Regions from separate parts of the Homo sapiens genome. Here all the other regions are linked to region 3. The links are contacts of gene promoters, found by promoter capture Hi-C in human tissues and cell types (Jung and others, 2019). All regions are on one chromosome and are shown on one strand. The core of a region is centred on a gene start or on the middle of the fragment in contact, and the rest is flanking DNA. Distances in the headings are between cores, read along the strand shown.

Evidence for each region. Contacts are between HindIII fragments. The study calls those that stand out against the background at their distance.
Region 1: a contact is called between a fragment that was not itself captured here and the fragment with the promoter of DLGAP1 in region 3, in 2 of the 25 tissues and cell types used here (dorsolateral prefrontal cortex and spleen).
Region 2: a fragment that was not itself captured here is called in contact with the fragment with the promoter of DLGAP1 in region 3 in 3 of the 25 tissues and cell types used here (dorsolateral prefrontal cortex, lymphoblastoid cells and spleen).

Annotation. Positions count from the first base shown.
Region 1 is chr18:4,544,514-4,549,418 of GRCh38, forward strand. No RefSeq gene overlaps it. Among named protein-coding and RNA genes, the nearest start is that of DLGAP1, 92 kb to the left of the region's middle. The HindIII fragment of the contact is 4,768 bases long and covers 1-4,395 here.
Region 2 is chr18:4,335,303-4,339,695 of GRCh38, forward strand. The region is part of intron 1 of DLGAP1 (DLG associated protein 1); the gene reads right to left. Among named protein-coding and RNA genes, the nearest start is that of DLGAP1-AS5, 73 kb to the left of the region's middle. The HindIII fragment of the contact is 7,157 bases long and covers 1-4,393 here.
Region 3 is chr18:4,452,230-4,456,880 of GRCh38, forward strand. It overlaps DLGAP1 (DLG associated protein 1), which reads right to left and starts at 3,078. Exons shown (of 13, transcript NM_004746.4): 1 at 2,777-3,078. RefSeq lists a silencer at 3,098-3,227. The HindIII fragment of the contact is 8,504 bases long and covers 1-4,472 here.

The sequences.
Region 1 (4,905 bases), core at 762-3,261, 91 kb after region 3:
GTTTTGTTATTTGATGTTGCTGAGAAAAAAAAAAAAAAAGGATTCCTGGCTGGGGCCACCATCTGTGTGGAGCCTTTCTCCCCACATCTACATGGGTTTTCTGGGTAGTCTAACTCCCTTTCACATCCCAGAGCTGGTTCATTCGGTTCACTGGCATGTCTACATGGTCCCCATGTGAGTGAATATGGGCGTGAGTGTGCCCTGTGATGTGATGGCATCCCGTCCAGGGCTGGCTCCTGCCTTGTGCCCTGAGCTCCCGGGACAGACTCCGGCCACATGGAGACACCAACTGGGAAAAGCAGGTTGGAAATGAATGGATGAATACAAATTATTGCAAGATAAAAATTCCTCATCTACAATAATCATACAAATGCAGAACAATAAACAATGCAGTAGGAAAGCTCTCCTCGAACCGGCCGTATGTGTTGGATTTTGTTTTTGAAATGCGTGGTAGAAGGAGGTGCTCCTTGCAATTTTCACTCTGCAGACAATTCTTCCTTGATTTAACCCACCACCACGACCAATGTCACACACTGATTCACCAAAAATTCGGTAATTTTCTTAGTTTTTGTTATTATTATTATCTTAGACATGGAGTCATACTCTGTCAGCACAATCATAGTTTACTGAAGCTTCGACTTCCTGGGCTCAAGGAATCCTCCCATCTCAGCCACTGCAGTTGCTGGGACCACAGACATGTGCCATCATGCCCAGCTTGTTTTTATTAGTTTTTCTTAAATGTAAGTATAGGCAGTTACTTCAATGTTTAATATTAGAAGTGTTTTGCTCTTTATTTAGAAGTTTGGTGATGTTTTTGTGACCAGAAATATGACCTAGGAACTTAACTCTTGTTTATATTAATTAGCCCATGATAAAATTGGTTTCATAATACCTCATTTTGCTTAAAGTTGCAGTTTCCAAAAACATATCAATGACTTTATTGTAACTCTTGAGGACTTATTGTATAGAATTTGGTTCTATTCATGGTTTCAGGCATCCACTGGGGACCTTGGGTATATCCCATTAGATTAAAGGGAAACTGCTGTACTGGCATGGAGGGCTGTGATTGACAGCCCATTCCGTAACATGGTATATTGAATAAGTTCAAAATCATTAAAATGAACCATGGAGATCTATGCAACCTGGTGTGTCTCTAGCCTCAAGCTCACCGTTTTGGCCTCCTTTCTAAGGCTCCTGCCCTTTCCACACCTCTGATATCCATTGCACCCAGCACTTGTCACCCATGGCTTTTGTTGATTTCAGTCTTCTCCTTATAATGCTACCATTGGCTCTCTTACTCCTTTCCCTGGCTATTACTCATCTCATTTCATCTTATCTAGTTCAAGTCCTCAAGGATGTGACAGCCTCCCTTAGTTACTCCCTATATTTATTCCATCATTGCTCATATCAATACTAACTGCATAATCATTTATGAGATGATTTATCTAATATGTTTCTCCTACTGGCCTGTAACCTCTGTGAGGGAAGAAATTTGGAGTCTGTTCTGTTCACCCTTGTAGTTCCTAGTACTTAGCACAGTGCTAGGTATGTAATCACCACCCAATAGATATATGTAAATGAATAAATGAATGAACAAATGACCATTTTATGGCTGACAACATGATTTTTACTGAACTACTAACCTGTTCTAAGGGCCACATATTACTCATCAAGGTGGTAACTCTAAAGTAAGATTACCATTGCTTATTGCCAGTTAGGGGATTACTAGTGATTTCTCTCAACTCCATGAAGCAAAGAGTTTTAAGGATTTGTTAACGTTCTTTCTTTTCCCTTTCCTGATTCAGAAAGATTGACTACAAAAACTGAGAGTAATGTTAATGATACAATTTTATTGAAATTTAAATATCAAGAAAGCAAAGTTTTGTACTTCAATCGCTTCCCTTCCTTGACTTGATAGGTCATTTAAAAAATTGTCTTGTGCTTGCCAGTAACTATATGATGTAGTGCAAATAAATAGCAACCTCCACTGTTAAAAAATAAAGTTGTCAGTTTTACATTGTCAGGCAGCAATCATTAGCAAAAAGTTACAGTGATAGAGCTTCAATCTTTGAAAAACCAATGGATTTGTAATAACTTATATATACCAAAAGATGCCCCTTAAAAAATAACAAGTTATTCTATAATAAAATGTGATAAAGAGGAGAGACAACAATCTATAGGCACTAAAGCAATTTTAGAAGTAGTTGTTAAATTCTAGAAACTTAATCTTGTTTTCTGAATGTTTCTAATATTATAAAAAAGGAACGTGAACAAAATAGAAAATTAAGTACTCATTTTTACTGTGATGTTTACTGTAATGACTCATTATGACAGCTGTTGAAATGAATGGATTAGGTATTTTAATAACTTTATCTCCATATGTTTTAAGATGTTTGTGGCTTTACATTCAATATTTATCTAGGCATTTCAAATAACTTGTTCTGGCTCTTGTAGGCAAGGATATGTAGATAATGTACATTTATACTGTAGAATGCTAAATATTTAACCAAGTTTTTATAGCATATGATTTTAAAAAACAATTATGAGATGTACTGAAAAACTGATGTGCTTAGTTCATTCTCTAATCATCCCCTCTGCTTCAAACACAAAGCAATAACCACAAGTATAGTCAATGTTTAAGCCAAAAGGATTATTTTTAGACTCAAAAAGATAAATATCTTCTGAATATGATTGGAATGGAAATATCCAAAAAACGAATGAGGCAAAAGCCCTGGGTTTTCCCGAAAGTAGCCAAAAAACGGCAGTGTGCTATGTAAACTCTATACTGAACAGAGTCTAAGAACGGGTTGGTCGATTAGAAAACAGTATTGAGAAAGCTGACCAGCATGTGCCACAGAAAGACTATGGTAAACCAAAAGAAACAAAAGTTTTAAAAAAATCACCTGAAAAACAGTATAAATACATAGTGAGGCTCCAACCCTCATGGAATAAGAGTTTGATAAAAGCAGAATGTAGCAAATGTCCGAGCAATAAAACTTGAAGAAGTAATTGCTGAAAATTTTCCACATCAAAAGTATACTCCAGGTACTTAGCAGAATAAATTAAAACTAATGAATGCATATGCATATCGTCATGAAGTTGTAGAACATTAGGATAAAAAGAAAAATCTTAAAAAGCACTAAAGAGAACCAATGCATCACCAACCACGGAATGACCAATTAAACTAACAAGAGACATTGGCAACAACAGATGCTAGAAGACAATGGAATAATATATTTAAAATGCCAAAGGAAAGTAACTGTAAGCCATATACACAGATAAACTATTATCTGTGAGGGAAGAAAAAAATAATGTTTATGCTTACAATTACCAGAAGAATTTACCACCCACACAGAGTCTCATTAAAAGAACTATTAAGTGCATATATTTCAGCATGAAGAAAACTGAACAAAGAAGGAAGCTGTGGGATTCAACAAATAAATGAACATTCCAAAATTGATTAAGTGCTAGCACATTTCATTAACTATTGACCTTATGCAAAAACTTATATTTAAAAATAAGGATTTAAAGCTTATAGAGGAATGAGACGATGGGAGAGGAGTGTTAAAGCATTATAAGCATCTTTTCAAGCTGGTACGGGAGATAACAGTGAACAAGTTTAGATTTTTAAAAGACAAAAACATAAGGGCAGAAGTGTTCAATACTATTTATAATATTTAATCAAAAAAGTGTAATGAAAGAGTATTTTTTTGAGAAAGTTCAACGTATAATAGATGCCAAGAAGGAAAAAAAATGAGAAATTCAAAGTACAATAGAAGATGGCAAATAGAAAAAAGTGATAATTGACACGAGTCCAAATATTCAGAAATCACATTAAGTATAAAAATTATGCATAGATATTGAAAGAAAAATTGTATCCTTTTTTTTTTTTTTTTTTTTTTGAGACAGAGTCTTGCTCTGTCGCCAGGCTGGAGTGCAGTGGAGCCATCTTGGCTCACTGCAACCTCTCACTCCCTGGTTCAAGTGATCTTCCTGCCTCAGTCTCCCGAGTAGCTGAGATTACAGGTATGCGCCACCACGCCCAGCTGATTTTTTTTTTTTTTTTTTTTTATTTTTAGTAGAGATGGGGTTTCACCATGTTGGCCAGGAGGGTCTCAAACTCCTGACCTCATGATCCACCCGTCTCGGCCTCCCAAAGTGCTGGGATTACAGGCATCAGCCACCGCGCCCAGCCGACAAATTGTATCTTAAATTCCGTTCTACGATGCTTAAATGTGAGTCATCTAAAACAAAATTAGTCAGAAGATTGAAAACAAAATGCAGAAAAAGAAAACATGGGGACTTTCATTCCTTGTAATTATCTTAGAGCAAGAAATGCTTCTGTAATTTTAACTCAAAACCCAGAAATAATAAAGGAAAAGACAGACAAAGTTAATTGGATAAAATTTTAAATCCTACAAATCAAATAACATCACAAAGTCAAAAGACAAATGAAAATTGGAGAAAAGTAGTTGCAGCTCATATCACAGAAAATGTTTTATATTCTTAATAAATTAGAAGATGCCATTGAATATTTATCTATGTCAATAGAATATACATACCTCTCTACCATATCAAAGATATTTACATATATATCCTTTAGGGAAACTCACACACCTATACAGGCAGACATCTGCAATAATGATTTTGTAGAACTTTTATAATAGTGAAAATTTAAGTATTCCAAATATCTATCAACAAGAGCATTTTTATGTTGGTGTATATTGATACAGTGGAAAATCATACAGTGGTTAAATTAATTTGATCTCCCAAATTATCATTCATATTTATATATATATTTTCCTCCATATTTTTAAACCCATAATTATTACATAATTTTGAACTGTACAGAAATTGCATCATCCTTTGGCAACTTGCTTTTTATCCTTGCCAATAAGTTTTTAC
Region 2 (4,393 bases), core at 454-2,953, 120 kb before region 3:
CTGTTTTTTACCTCCCTCCCACCTTCCACAGCATGATCCACTACACGAGAGAAAAGACAAGGATCATTCCTAGGTCCTCTGGAATTAACTCAGTGCCTTGCACAGTATCAGTAATAAAAATTGGTGAATACATAATTTAATAGTTCACAAAGCCAAGAAGCCTCATCATACTGCTTAAGTTTGTTTTATCAGGACTTGAATTTTTAGGTTGACCGGTCATTGAAAATGCAGATTACTTTAACTGCAATGGGAAGTCCTGTGGTTTCACCTGGCTCTGGAAAAGGAAGGAAACATAAGACAGTACTGTCTGGAGGAAACAAGGTCCTCTTTCAAAGCAAAGTGGCTAACTCCAGGGCTTCACATCCAAGCTTATGCACTAAACCTGAGAATGTAAAAAAAGAAAAATAAAATTACATATGTCCTGTTTTAAGTCCTCAGGAATCAAATATTCTAAAATGTTTGGTGCAAAATGTGTTTTAAAGGAGCAATCAGCAATGTCACAGAATTGAAAGACTGCGTTAGAAAAAAAAGTGTGCACTCTACTGGGCTTTTGAAATTGAAAATTCTATCAGCAATTTATCATATTCAGGTATTTAAAGTGTGCATATGAAATACATGCCATGAATTATTTGTGACATTTTTATGATTTAGAAACACAAGACTATTGGTTGATTTCCATTGCCATTTGGGGCACAAATTGATATATCAAAATACAAGCTTCAGTTTATCACACAAGAAGCAGCAAAATGCACTATCAATGCCAATCTGCCTGTTATCACTATTAGCATACTGCAGTACGTCTATTACAGTGCACGTGCCGACAATGCCCTCCTGACCCACACACCATTCATAGGTACTTTTGCTGCCCATTGGCACAGAAAAAGATACGTATGCACCATACAACTCCATTCTTCCAACTCCAATTCTGCTTATTGGGCTATAAGTGAATAATTCCAGGTTGACCAATCATATTATTCCCAGAAATCTAATGTGGTCCATAGAGGTGGACTCTGTTAGCTCTAGACAGCTGATCTGGAAAGTCTGTAGAAACAACACTTTGAGGACCACTGTGCTGACCACATACAACTGTGGAAGAAGCTGGTCTGAAGGTAGAAAAATATAGACGAGTGAATTTGAAGAAAGAATGAAAGAGAGGCAATGAGGCCCAAAGATGCTGGCAGCTAAGGAGAGTAACGGCTACTTCTAGGCCAGGATGAGCTCCTGTGACATACCTACATAATATACTAGTGTGTCCTCCCAGTAAATACCCTTCACCAAAGCTTCTGTTCCTTCTATCAAAATGGTCCTGTGGCATCTAATCTTATCTCATGTAAGGGGCTGGGTCAGTGGCTAATTCAAAGCCTAACATCCACTCTACTTTAATTAATAGATGGCATTTTACTATTAACAGTTGATATGGACATGTATCGAACAAAGGAGCTTCAATGAATAAAACTTTTCTAGTTTGTTGTAGGGGCTTATAGAATTGAGTCTCTCTCCTATTAGAGTGTAAACTCCTTGAGGATAAGATCTAATCTAGTTTATGTTAGCATTACGGTATCTAGAGGCAGGCGGATCACGAGGTCAGGAGATCGAGACCATCCTGGCTAACACAGTGAAACCCCGTCTCTACTGAAAATACAAAAAAAAAAAAAAAAAAAATTAGCCGGGCGTGGTGGCTGGCGCCTGTAGTTCCAGCTACTCCGGAGGCTGAGGTAGGAGAATGGCATGAACCCAGGAGGTGGAGCTAGCAGTGAGCCGAGATTGTGCCACTGCACTCCAGCCTGGGCGACAGAGTGAGACTCCATCTTAAAAAAAAGAAAAAAGAAAAAAAAAAAAAGAGCAAAAGTAGTAGTAGGTCAGTTGATACATTGATAGGCCAATAGTTGGCTTTTTTTTTTTTTTTTTTGAGATGGGGTCTCACTTTGTCACCCAAGTTGGAGTGCAGTGGCGCAATCTTGGTTCACTGTAACCTCTGCCTCCCAGGTTCAGGTGATCCCCCCACCTCAACTTCCAGAGTAGCTGGGACTACAGGTGCATGCCACCACGCCCGGCTAATTTTTCCTACTTTTTGTAGCGACGGGGTCGCCATGCTGCTTAGGCTGGTCTGGAACTGATCTTTAAATGATTCACCTGCCTCAGCCTTTCAAAGTGCTGGGATTACAGGTGTGAGCCACTGTGCCCGGCAAAGAGATGGCTTTTTAAAACAATTATAGTTCATATCCTTAAAAAGATTGTAAGAAGAATTTACAAATGTATGACATTTTAGAGAGAAATATTTTAGCTCTAGTATTCTATAAAAATCACACAAATCTCCTCAAGAGTTGTGTGTCGGGAGCCAATTGTCAATTCCAACAAATAAGAAAAATAATTGACCAGCCGAAACCAAAAAAATACATAGATACATATATAAAGTCATAGTTTTCTCATAAACATCACTGAGAACATTACTGGCAGTATTGGAATATTTGAATCAAACCGCTACTTTTATACTGGAGCCATTTTAGTTTTTTTATTTCATACTTTCATAGCTGAAATGAAATTTCAGCTATTTCAGTGCTGTATTTTACAATGTTCTTTTCACAGAAGTCTTTGTCAGGGGTCATTTTTTTTCCATATTGTCTCAACATTTCCCTTCACTTCTGTTTCGCTTTTAAAAAATTATCAGTGGCATTTGAAACACCACATATTTTAAAACAGAGTGAATCATAGTTTTTATCTCTCTGCTGTATTTAAGATAATAATGGATGTTGAGTAGAAACTAATCTTACCACTAATTTTAGCATCCATTAAAAAATTCCAATCAGTCTCAGTTTGTAGATCTTTGAGTATTTTGTGAAACTGTACATCTATTTTCCACTGTCAAGGCAATCCATTTTCAAATCATGATCACAAATAATTTCTTGGAAAGAAATTACATTTTTACTGTTAAAGGATTTAAAAGTTTGGCCAGACACAGTTTTATCAGCTGGAATGTAAAATCCCTAAAAGTAGAAAATTGTTGTCAGTTTTGTTTATTGAGATATTTCCAAAATCCAGAAAGGTGCTGAGTACATAGTACATGTCCAATAATACTTCTGGAGTAAATAAATCAATCATACCAAGTGTCAATAGTTGGGAAATTTTCAAAGGCCTTTTATTATCCTTGTAACACAGGTTTGTTAAATGACCCTGGGCATGTACCTGATTATATTGATCCTTCAGGCATTCATTTCCTAAATGTGTACTGAGTGCCTATTATTTATCAGGAACTGTGGCTCAGAGAAAGTATACCAAGATGAATAGATTATAGACAGTTCTCTCTAGGAGTTCACGATGAAAAGGTAAATAGAGGAGTGTACATTCTTTGTATGGCAAGATGATAAATACGACAGACGGTGAATGAATAAGACATTAAATAAATTTACAGCAAGGAGCTGCTTGTTTCTTTATACATAGATTGAGAAGTATAATTGCAGATTCCATTATGCAAATAAACTATTTCCCCTATGTGATCATCTATGAATAATTTCATAGGTCACCAAGGCACTGATCAGGACATTAACAGAGTCATTTATTCAATGTAAATGGCCTATTATTATAGCGGACCTTCAAAAATACGTTATTTGCTCATATATTAAAAATTTCCTTGAAAATAACTTATTATACAAGTGCTTTCCAATTTATATAGCTCTGAGACTGTGTCCAACTGATGGGGACAAAATAGTCATTTAACACACCGCAGATCAATGATTTCATTTAGAATATGTACGCGGAAGGTTAGTTAAGAACTAAAGGGTCCTGACTTTAGACTCACATGAAACTGGGTTTTGACTCCATTCCCATGAATTATTGACTCTTTCAGTCTACTGAGTTAAGTCAGGACCAAGTTTTCATCTATATGTACAAACTTTCTGCTGGTGTCAAAAAATACAGTTCATCAGAAGACCAAACACTGCATGTTCTTACTTATAAGTGGGAGCTGAACAACGAGAACACATGGACACAGACAGGGGAATAACACACACTGTTTTGTGTGTGTTGGGAAGGCAGCCAGAGGGAGAGCATCAAGACAAAAAGTTAATGCATGCGAGTCTTAATACCTAGGTAAGGTGCTGTTCTGTGCTGCAAACCACCATGCACATGTTTTCCTATGCAACAAACCTGCACATCCTGCACATGTATCCTGGAACTTAGAATAAAATAAAATAGAATTAAATTAAATGTAAAAAATACAGTCTATACAAACTGAGGCCACTTATCAATTATTTGTATTTTCTGATCACACAATAATGAGCTCACTCCAGTTTCCAATTATATTATGAAATATTCATAATTTTAATTGACCTCATCAGAACCCCTAAAATTATAGATTCTATTATTCCTTACTTAAAATTTCTCTGAAACCAATGCC
Region 3 (4,651 bases), core at 1,828-4,327:
TCACTATAGAAATACACATTAGATAACATTTTACTATTATCTCTGAATTTGAAATATTACGAGATCAGAATCAAAACACTGAATTCTTTGTTTCTGAAAGAGTTGATGTTCAAAGAATATGGTATTCATCTCGATTAAGTTGTAGATGAAACTATTACTTTGCTGCATATTAGTGAATATTGCTCATATTCACTAAAATGAGTACTTTGTAAAACAAGTCCCCCTCTTCCAAGTTTTAATTTTATATTTAAAAAAAATCAATCTAAATGGCTATATGGAACAAAGGCACACATATTTAATAGAGTTAACTCAAAGTGCATGCAGTTTCTATTCCCAAATTGGGTTGAATAGGACACTTAAGCTTAGAAGGATTTAAAAAGTAGAACACTACAATTAGTTTTAGGCTATTTCTCTATATGCGCTACATAATATTTTGGAAGGAAGGTCTTGTCTCCATTTGCTTTCACTAATCGCTAATATGCTTTTACTGGGTTTTTAGTCCTGGCAGAACAAAGCTTATGTTGATGGAGAAATTAAAGATGCTAAACCATGAAAATTCCCTCCTAGGGAAAACTCATATACTCATTATTTCCCCAAAGCACAATTGCTTGTGTGAGATTTAAGAAGCCTTGTCAGAAAATTATTTTGACATATTTAAAAGAATGTTAACCAGTTCCTTTTGCCCATATTTATATTGCCTGTAATGTTTGAGATAAAGTATTGTATTTGCAGACTAATCTTAGAATGAAATATAGAGAAATAGATAGCTATAAATTTAAAAAAATCTATGTATGCAAGTACATTCTTCTTTACTCACACAAGGTAACTAACATTTTCTCTTAAGTAAATTAGTTTTTTAAAAATTCACAGAATTTTATATCTGCGACTAGGGGTATTGCAAGGCACTAACCAACTGAAACAACTTTACATTTAAGTACTAAATCTAAAGGAAATTAAGAACAGGGCTACTGACACCTGACTTCTATGAACTTTCTTGTTTCATGCCAGAGTATGAATTTTCTGAACCAAGGGTAGCGTTTATAACTTAAACTTTTTAAAATCATACATTTTGCATAGACATATTCATTATTTCTTTATAGGCTTGAATTTCCTTTTAAAAACTTAAAGAAAACTTTATATTCTTCTGGCATGAAATAAATTAGGATCTTGTAAAATTTCTTGCCTCCATGTCATTTCCGTTCAAGTTTTATTCAAGGAATAAAAAGTATTGCTTTATATGCAAAATGACCTAGGCCAATAGAAAGTCGTTTCCTGAACTGAAATCGTGCTATAAATAACAGTCAAAGGGCTGTTCTTTTTAGAACAGCTCTTTCAGGGTAAAAAATAATTTGCAGGATGTTTGCCTTAGGACCTAAAATCGCTTTCCTAGTTCTCAGCATTTCTCATCTCCATGTCTAACCACATCTTAGACTGATCTATCCTCACCTTCTACGAAGCCATTCACGAAGACCACAAAAGCTAAAAGATCTGTCTTTAATTGGTACTTTTATTATATGTCTTTCCTCGTAATTCCCTAACTTCACGTGTTATGGAAGGAGGCAGGGAGCATTCACCTCCCACGACCGGGAGTCAGTCTCTGTGTCAGGAGTAAGGAGTGAAGAGTCTCGCCTGGATCCACAAAAGACGTGACATCTCCCACCCAGCGTCCCACTGCTTGCCGCCTGGCTACCTTTAACCCCTTGCCCTCCGCACATCCTCCCCTTCTCTAGCAGAAAATTCCGCAGCGCTACGGTCGGGCTGGAGGCAAGCCCTGCAGCCGGGGGCGAGCGCGGCACTCGGACACAGGCACTCAGTGTCTCCGGCGCCGGCAGCCGAGCCACGGGCCACCCCTTCCCACGGCCTCCCGGTGCCACCCAGCGAGGCCGGGACAGCGCGCCTTCCGCAAAAAGCGCAGCAGCCGAAGTCCTGAAAGCAGGGTCTTCATCGCCGCGGGCCCTCCGAAGGTGCCTCTCCCAGCTGCAGCCGCCCCTCAATGAAAGTGCAATGTGTTATCTCGCCCAGCCCAGAGGAGAGGTCCCTGTTTGGCCTTGGTTCCAGCCCGGCTCATTCAATTCGCTGAATGTCGGGTCTCCCGGCCCGCCCCGCGATTCTCCGGGAATTGGCCTTGGCCGCGGGCAGGGGGCGACTCTCCAGTGACCTCCTCCTTGGACCCCATTTCTCTCTCTCTCTCTCTCTCTGTGCCTGTCTTTGTGTCTCTGTTTCTTTGGCTTTCTCTTACAAACGCACGGGGGAGTTGGTCCTTTTCCACAATGCCAAAATGTCACCCAAAAAGCTAGTGCAACAACTTGCTTTGCAAACGACCCAGGAGCCTGCCGAGAAAGCCCTGCGGGGAGCAGCCCCCTCCTCCCCTGCAAGGTGCATCGGGGGTGGGGTGGGGGTGCGAATTTGACCGGTGGACATGACCGGGACAGGGGACCGGTGTTCTCCTCCCCTCCCCCTTCCGGGACCCTGTCGCAATTAGAAATCCTTCCCCTGCCTGGGTCCCCGTGGGGAGCCGCGAGGACCGCATGGCCGGAGAGGACGCGCTCGCCCCCGAGATCCCAGGTTACCCGGAGGGCCCGGGAGTGCACCCCGGGCGGCTGAAAGGGTAAGGAGCGCGGACTCTCGAGCCAGCGGCCGGGGGAGCCCAGCCCGCAGCCCCTCCGCGGGCGAGGGAAGCGGCGACCGCGCGGCAGGCAGCAGCCAGGAGCCACCCAGCGCGCCGCGACCGCCGCCGCCGCGCACGCCCCAGCCCCGCGGCGCAGCCCGGCGTTACCTGGCCGCGTCCCGCAGTCCGGCCCTCGCTGGCTGCGTCCGTCCGTTGGTCCCACGAGCCTCGGAGGAAGGAGAGAGATGTCCCCGCGACCAGGACCGGCTCTCAGCGAGGTGACGGGAAGGACTCGAGAGAGGAGCCGAGGCGGCGGCGGCCGTTCGCGCCGCCTATGCTGCCGATTCCCCGAGGCGGAAGGTGTCCGCGAGGCCGTGTCCTGGAGATTGCGGCGCCCGAAGCGCAGCGCTCGCCTCTGGAGCGGAGGCTGAGCGCCGGGACGCGGCGGGCTGGGGCTGCAAGGCTGGGCTGGTGACCCGCCCCTGGGTGCATGTTAATACGGTGGGGAGGAGGAGTCCCGCGCTTCCTCCGCCCAACCACCGGAGCCGGCGGGCGGGCGGCGGCCGCGGCCCGGAGCCAGCCGCTCCCACCCGCCCCAGCTACTACGGCGCGGCGCGACCGCGGGCTCCGGCCCCAGCCCAGGCACGTGCGCCCAGGCCGCGGGGAGGCGCCGGCGCCTCCCGGAACGCGCTCCTGGCCTGCGAGTGCTGCCCGCTCAGTCTCCGGGTGGGAAGTGCGCTCGCCCCGGACCGAGGGGAAAGCCCAACATCCCCGGGATGGAACAGAGAGGCGGCCACCCGTGAGTGGGCGTGACCCATTGGTTCCCTTGCGCAGCATCTGTGGAGAATTAAGCTTTCCCCTCCTCTCTTGCCAGCCGTTGTTCCTAATCTTGTCTTTTTTAAGGGAGGAAAGCAGGAGAACTCATGACACTTTGTATCACAGGAAATCAAGTTGGTGGACAGAGGGTTTGCTGACCTCTCCCGTCCCTCCTCAGGGTCCCTAGGAGAATTTTTGAAGAAGTAATCGGCAGCAAGGAGATGGGGGCAATAGAGAGTCTCAGACTCGCAGGGACCCATGTTCGTCCCCAGCGCCACTACTTTCAAACCGTTATCCCTCAGAGCTGTTTCCTCACCTCCACAACAACTCTCCCGGGTTCGATGACACTATATATCCCACCAGTTCATCTTGGTACAGGCCAAAAGGTAATTCAAAAAGCGAAACGAATCTCATCTCCTGACCTGTGCCCTCGGTAAAGTCCCCAGGTTCCACCCCAAGTACACTTGGAAGCCAGGCCCCTCCACACAGGCTGAGCACCACGCTTCCACAAACTGAAAACAGAGAGAATCCACTTGGTTTCAAAGTTAGAATAGGGATAGCGGCGTGAGTGGGTGAATTGCGATGTGGGTCAAGGAGAGAAAAAAGTAAATCAATTAAGTATTTATTGAGCTCCTGCGCTGCCCACTTAATTGCAAACGTTACAGTAGTTAAAATAATCGTGGTTAATCACTGCCTTATTATTTCCTTCTATTAAAAAAAGAAATGGCATCTTCATGGAGAATGTCCTTTGTTCTACAGCTTCCTGAGGGAATATTATGCCAAAAAGTACATAATCTTTATGTAATTTTATCCAGAAGTTATAGCATAAGATTTAGCATCTGTTTTGTGTGATGTCTAATTATAAATATTAATAGAATATCCTTTTAAAGACAACACTTCTAAAAATGCAAGGAAGTGAAAAACAGTTTTCATAAAAATATGACTCAGATAAATAACCTCTTTCCTGCAATTTCACTGAGTGATTTTCCATTAAAGAAAATAACAATTACTGAAACCACTAAATGGAGGTAAATTCTCAGCATTGTAATATCATGAGCACCGACGCTTTAGCAATGATCTAAAAGATATTCTCAGACAATTCAAGAATTACTATAGGGGCCCAGCTCAGTGGCTCACACCTCTAATCCTGGCACTTTGGGAGGCCGAGATGGGCAGATCACTTGAGGTCAGGAGTTCAAGACCAGCCTGGCCAACATGGTGAAAACC